Regions from separate parts of the Homo sapiens genome. Here region 2 is linked to region 1. Evidence: promoter capture Hi-C in human tissues and cell types (Jung and others, 2019). All regions are on one chromosome and are shown on one strand. The core of a region is centred on a gene start or on the middle of the fragment in contact, and the rest is flanking DNA. Distances in the headings are between cores, read along the strand shown. Region 1 holds the start of YEATS4 (YEATS domain containing 4). Region 2 overlaps FRS2 (fibroblast growth factor receptor substrate 2).

Evidence for each region. Contacts are between HindIII fragments. The study calls those that stand out against the background at their distance.
Region 2: a fragment that was not itself captured here is called in contact with the fragment with the promoter of YEATS4 in region 1 in 1 of the 25 tissues and cell types used here (hippocampus).

Annotation. Positions count from the first base shown.
Region 1 is chr12:69,357,745-69,361,301 of GRCh38, reverse strand. YEATS4 (YEATS domain containing 4) reads right to left here and starts at 1,559. Exons shown (of 7, transcript NM_006530.4): 1 at 1,279-1,559. The coding sequence starts at 1,329. RefSeq lists a silencer at 1,025-1,184 and enhancers at 610-1,211, 1,465-1,654, 1,212-1,815. The HindIII fragment of the contact is 10,052 bases long and covers 1-3,557 here.
Region 2 is chr12:69,524,812-69,528,529 of GRCh38, reverse strand. The region is part of intron 1 of FRS2 (fibroblast growth factor receptor substrate 2); the gene reads right to left. Among named protein-coding and RNA genes, the nearest start is that of SNORA113, 11 kb to the right of the region's middle. RefSeq lists a silencer at 355-555. The HindIII fragment of the contact is 4,028 bases long and covers 1-3,397 here.

The sequences.
Region 1 (3,557 bases), core at 310-2,809:
AAAACTCCGTCTCAAAAAAAAACAAAACAAAACACACACACACACACACACACACACACATAAGTATTTTAAAACCTACTAATTATTGCTATTTTTTTTTTAAAGAAACATTGTCTTGCTCTGTCGCCCAGGCTAGAGTGCAGTGGCACGATCTCAGCTCACTGCAACTTCCGCCTCTCGGGTTCAAGCGATTTTCCTGCCTCAGCCCCTCTAGTAGCTGGGATTACAGGTGCCCGCCACCACGCCCGGCTAATTTTTGTATATTTAGTAGAGACGGGGTTTCACCATGTTGACCAGCCTGGTCTTGAACTTCTGATCTCAGGTGATCCACCCTCCTCGGCCTTCCAAAGTGCTGGGATTACAGGCGTGAGCCACCTTGCCCGGCCCTGCACGTTAATTTTTAAGGCAGGACCCACTGGCTCCTGATAAAAACAACTATTTGTACCCCTTCTGATTTTTATTTATAAAGGAAAGGAAATTTTTCTTTAAAAAGAATGAACCACGGCTGGGCGCGGTGGCTCACGCCTGTAATCCCAGCACTTTGGGAGGCCGAGGTTGCAGTGAGCCGAGATCGTGCCATTGCGCTCCAGCCTGGGCAACAAGACAGACACTTCGTCTCAAAAAAAAAAAAAAATTAACGTGCCAGGGGCTGTGTGAGGGAAATAAATATTACAATGTCAAACATTACGCTAGGGTCTATGGTAATTTCATCAAAAACAAAAGAAGTTGACATTTACTGAATGTTCCCCATGTGCCAGGCACAGTGTTATGCTCTTGCTTTGAGGCTTTGTGAACACCATGAACTCCAGCAAATTTTCTTAGCTTTCGTATGCCTCGGTGTCTCAGTTACCGCACTTGGAAATACTGCGGGTAAGCGCTCAGCGACTGTTTGCTACAGTTATTGTTATCCTCACACCAGGAGGGTGGCGTCACCGCTTCACCAATAACCTAGATTGGCAGCGAATGTGCACCAAGCTGAGCTTTCCCAGCCCTCGGAGTCGCCCGTTTCCTTGGCAGCCACGTCCGGGTTTCCCCAAGCCACCATTTATCTGTTTGTTTTTTGGCGGGGGTGGGAGTTGGCAGTGACGCGAGGAAGTTGGGGCCCAATGAACGCCGGTTTTTCGCTCAATGGCTCTGACTCGCTCTCCAACCTGAAACCACGGTTCAAACCCGAGGAGAAAAGGCGCGAAAGGAAACCCAGTGGGCCCTCCCCGCGCCGCGCAGGGAGGAACCGAGGCGGGAGAGCCACCCCGGAAGAGGGGCGGTCCGGGCACTGACCTTTACTCTCCCGCCGGAGTCAGGCCCAAATTCGGCCATTCTCTTGAACATATTGTCCCACGGAAGAAGCCGCCGCCGCCAGGGAAAGAGACCGGGGCTGGCGGGGTCGCCGCTCCCCTCAGAGACCGCGCTCCTGTCGCGCGGGCCCAGGCGGAGGGTTTCTAGCCGAAGGAGGGCGAGTTACTTGGGCTCACGGCGGTGAGTAACCGTCAACTCCTCAGGCCGACTGTGCTCCTGAAGGCCATTCAGGCCCGCGCAGGTGGAGAACGCCGCGAAAAGAGGGGCGACGGCCGCACCGCGCGCAGGCGCAACGGGCTCGCGTATGCGCACGCAGTGTACACTGCGCACGCGCCTGGCGGCTGCAGTCACATCACAGGACCAGTGCAGGAGTTCCAAACCAAAAAAAAAATGAAAGGCAGGAAATAATAAATGACTTCAAAAAGTTGTCCAGATGTTAAGGAGATGAGTTTCCACACTGAAAGATCCTACTAAGCACCCAGCACAAATATTAAAGCATCCACGTCAAGGCATATCATTGTGAATTTTCTGAACATCGAGGAAAAAGAGATCCCACACCCTTCCAGGTTATACAGACTATAGAATCAGAGTGGCTTCAGATTGCTCAGTTAGAATCTAGGAAGCCATACGGCACTGTCTTCAAAACTCTGAGGGAAAATTACTTCCGATTTAGTCTTCAATACTCATCCAACTACCAATCTAGTGTGTGAATAGAATAGAGTTTCAGATGTGCTAAATCACTACACACAAAAAATAGTACCTATCTTACCTTTCTCAGTACCTCCAGGAAGATCCTGTAGATCTGATCCACCAAAATGAGGGAATAAGCCAAGAAGGAGGAAATTATGAAATGCAGGAAATACAATAAATAACAAACACAGAAAATAGTAAGATCCCAAGATGATACTGAAAGAGCTCCGGGAACAATAGCTGTGTATAGGCATAGACGGCAACGCATCTAGATTAGATTCGGTCAGAAATCTTTGGGAGACACTGCTTCAGAAGGATGGGATTGACAAAATTCCAGCTGGCGTTGAATCAAGAGGAGATTTGACCGAGAGTTTGGAGTTTAACTCATGACAGGTACACAGAAAACTAAGCGGCTGTAAGAATTATGCAGCTATTAATTCTAGGGAAAACAAAATCTTGTGCAAGAAAGGAAAGTAATTGTATTTATTGTTACATAAATACTGAGTATTGGCCGGGCGCGGTGGCTCACGCCTGTAATCCCAGCACTTTGGGAGGCCAAGGTGGGCGGATCACGAGGTCAGGAGATCGAGACCATCCTGGCTAACACGGTGAAAACCCGTCTCTACTAAAAATACAAAAAAATTAGCCGAGCGTGGTGGTGGGCGCCTGTAGTCCCAGCTGCTTGGGAGGCTGAGGCAGAAGAATGGCGTGAACCCGGGAGGCGGAGCTTGCCTTGAGCCGAGATCGCACCACTGCACTCCAGCCTGGGTGACAGAGCAAGACTCCGTCTCAAAAAAAAAAAAAAAACAAAACAAAAAAAAACTGAGTATTGATCCCCCCTCCCCCTCAAAAAAAGAATTACATTTAGAAGGATGGGCTTTGGAGAAGGGTACTATGCTTGATGGGGATGGAGGAGGAGGAAATAGAGCTTAATCTTTAACTTCCATAGTAGGAAGTCAGTATCTTAAAATGGAAAAATCAAGAAGAAGCAATATAGGTGTAATATTGAAAAGCATGGAGATAAATATTTTAAAAAATAAGCTAAAAGAGTAGAAAATACTGCTGATTGTAATTTTTAGTAATTCCACTTAACAACTGTAAAGAAAATACTTTTTAAAAGACTTCACTAAATAGAAGTGCAAGGGATGTGCTCAGGGCTTAGTTATATTAGTGCCACATGAAGAGCTCAATTGTCATATGGATGTCACTGCATTTCAACCAAGATAGGAACTGAGTTTCTTTGAAAATGATCAAACATTGATATTGATTTTTATTCTGTTGCCAGAATAAGAGTAGAAATTTGGTTTGGGGGCGTAATTATATTTAAAACAATTGGTATGACTAAGAAATATTTATCAAAAACTAAAGCAAAATCTCCAACAAACATTGCTTTCCCTCTTCAGTCTACTTTGTCTAATCTCTGGCAGTTTCCTCAATCAGCCTGTGTTGTTGGGTTATCCTGGCACTTCTTGGACATGTCCTATCTCTGTTTCTCAGCTGTCACTCTTCAACTCTCTCTCCGCTACCTTGACTCATCCTTTGTACACCTCAGGGTATCTCGATATGCATAA
Region 2 (3,718 bases), core at 134-2,633, 170 kb before region 1:
ATCATCTGTACCATAACTCTAGAACAGAGTGGTAGAAGATTTGAATTAAAAGAGTCCCATCAAAAAACAAAAACCAGCAAAAAAATGGCATTCCCTTTCCTCCCACTTTGTTAGGGATTTCTGTTTGGGATTATATTATAAGGTTCCAGGTAATCTCAGGAAGTTTAACTGCTTCAAATTTATCTGTTACCTTTAGATATCAAGACCACCAGGAAACAATCAAAAGAACTCACTAACTCTTAACATGACTAAACTAGCTATGACATGGTAGGATGTTTAAACTTAATTATTTTTTCTTTAAATAAACAAACTCCCCCTAGGCTAAGCCCTCCTCTGCCTTTTAAACATTCTATGGCTGGCAAACTTCAGGGTCTTAAGAGAGATAGCCAGGGGACAGAGAAAACAGCAAGTCTGACTCAGTGATCACATTTAACAGTCCCTGAAAACCAAAACAAAGATACAGTTCTGGCAAGAGTTCTCTAGAATTGCTGCAAAACTGACTTATCCACATACCTTTCATCTGAACAATCTATTTTCACTTACTTTAAGGTACATAAAGCATTTGTTATGTGTCTATCAGACCTTAGGTATAAAAATAAACCAAGAGTACAAAGAAAACAATTAGCAGGGGTTCCAAAAGTTGGATGATGAAATTTAATGTTCAAATCTGCTTTGTTTGGAAAGTTGGAGAGAACCCTTGAATATTTTTGTACCGAAATGCTCCCACTCATTTAGAAATCAGAATTTTAGCAAGTTCAACCACTTGAAAGAAAGCTAGTAATATTAAAAACTTTTATTGAGCAACTTCTATGTGCCCCATATTTACATTAGTTAATTCTCAGAATTTCCCAATCAAAAAGGTTAAAGCACACGGTGGTTACTAACTTGTCTAAATCAGAGATAGCCTCAGGATTCCAAATCCCAGTTTGTCTTGTTCACTATTATAATCTGCAGTAAACTGGAATACAGTTATTAACGACAAATCCCATATTTGTGCCATAGGAATAACATGTAAATCCAGGCTGTTTATGTAAAAATTTGCTTAAAGCCAGGCATGGTGACCCGCAACAAGAATCCCAGTTACTTGGGAGGCTGAGGCAGGAGGATTCTTTGAGCCCACGAGTTAGAGTCCAGCTTGGACGATGTACCTAGACCTTGTCTCTTTAAAAAAAAAAAAAAAAAAAAATCATTAAAAAAAAAAAAACTTTGCTCCATTCTTGCTTCAGACAAGAGGACAAATGAAGAAAGATTCACTGCTATACATTAAGAGTAAACCTGTGGCATTAGGGGATTATTAAGGGCATTAAGGGGTGAATCCAAAGAATGTGCCATGCTTAGGTCTAAAAGAATTGAGTAAAAATAAGCTGGCCAGAGCAAAGCACAATAATTGGTTTTCAAATCACCTTTAAATGACTGATTGTTATTCCATACACTTAGAAAAGTCAGGGAAAAAATGTCAGGGTTCAATGGGGTGGCCACACAGGTGTTCATCAAAAGTTTCTGCACTGGCTGGACGCGGTGGCTCAGGCCTGTAATCCTAGCACTTTGGGAGGCCAAGGCGGGTGGATCACGAGGTCAGGAGATCGAGACCATCCTGGATAACATGGTGAAACCCTGTCTCTACTAAAAATACAAAAAATTAGCCAGGCGTGGTGGCACGCGCCTGTAGTCCCATCTACTCAGGAGGCTGAGGCAGGAGAATCACTTGAACCTGGGAGGCGGAGATTGCAGTGAGCCGAGATCGTGCCACTGCACTCTAGCCTGGGTGACGGAGTGACACTCTGTCTCAAAAAAAAAAAAAAGTTTCTACACTTTTCTGACTATCTGAAATATTTTTCTCTCTCATCTATCTACATACATACACATGTATATGTTAAATTATCTTTAAAGTAATTTTTAGAATTTATAATGAAATTATTAGTTCTATTAATTTTCCTAATTTTCTTTTTCTAAAAAATCCTCTCATGTGGAACACATTCTTGACATTATCAGATAACACTAATTGGCTTTATTTCTTCATACTCAATAGCATCTGATTTTATAAGTGTCATTAATGAAAAAATATTGTGTAGGAATATTTTCTTTCTGAATCGTAAGCTTAATTGGTTATTATTAGATTGAACTACTGCCTATCACATAGCAAAAGTAATATACCCACTGTATTTTCAAATGAAAATCAAAGTAATTCCTTCTCAGGACACATTACCCAGGAAATGTAGCCTTATTATACTAATGTCCTAAGTTAGTTGGAAAAAGTGAAAATTCCTTAGAACAAATTATCCCCATGATTAAAAAACATGCCATGTAAACATCAGTACAACTTAGATTTACACAGAGAAACAGACTGATCAATTTAAAGTTTCCCAAAGGATGGGCCAGGCACCATGGCTCACACCTGTAATCCCAGCACTTTGGGAGGCCGAGGTCAGCAGATCACCTGAGGTCAGGAGTTGAAGACCAGCTGATAAACATGGTGAAACCCGTCTCTACTAAAAACACAAAATTAGCCGGGTGTGGTGGTGCATGCCTGTAATCCTAGCTACTTGGGAGGCTGAGGCAGGAGAATCGCTTGAACCCAGGGGGCGGAAGGAAGTTGCAGTGAGTCAAGATTACACCACTGCACTCTAGCCTGGGCAACAAGAGCAAAACTCCATCTCAAAAAATGAAATTAAAATCAAAATAAATAAAGTTTCCCAAAGTACTAAATACATATGCTAGTCTTCTAAATATTTGTGATCTGGAAATTATCAGCAAAAACCAACATTCTTTTAAAAAAACACATACCACTTGGTTGAGTTTATGGTGCTAAAAAAAAAAAATAATCTCCCTCACAGTCTCCATTGCACTGATGGTTAATAAAGATGAAGGAAAGGAAAGGAGAGGAAAGAGAGGACACGCGTTCTCAAGATACCAATTATAAACAATACAACTTTATTTTTTTTAAGCCTTAGGATTTTAGTGTTCCTTTCTCAGTAACAAAGACTCCGTGTGCAGACCTAGAATTAGGAACATATAAAGATAATGGGAAGGTCTGCATGGTTTTGAAATCAATGTTGGGGGTTATCACCTGTGGCATTTACTTGTTTTGTTTTGTATTTTAAGGAAATGCAGATCACAGAGCACATAGATATGTATTGTTTCTTGAAACTTTATCATACACACAGTCTCTCTATAGTCAATGTTTGTCTCATCTTTCTCTCCTTTCCTTCCTTCCTCTTGAATACTCACAAACAGTATGAATAATGCATATTTAAATACTTGTGGTTTGTATAAAAACATGCTACACACATTCTAGGCCATGACATAAAATGCATTTTTTTAGTAAAAAAAAAAAAAACAATATTACATCTTAACATTGTGATTTGATTTAGAGCATCAAGGTAAAAACTTCCAGAGTGGAGGACTCTCCAAGATGGCTGACTACATGAAGCCAGGAGAAACAGCTCCCACCAAGGGACTGGGACATCAGGAAGACTCGTGCACTCCTAGCAAACCTTCAGAGGGAAGGCATTAAGATCAGAGGGAAGAAAGATACAGGGCATAGCTGAAGCGGGAGGAAGCTGGGAACCCTACACAGGGCTACCAGGCACCCAGGACTAGTTCCTGGCCCCCAGTGATTCCTGCAGAAGGGGTGAGTTGAACAGGCAAGGAGCAACCTGCTCTCACCAGGGGCCTCTGGAATCCCAGTAGGAAGAGACCCCTCTGCCACCATGGACAC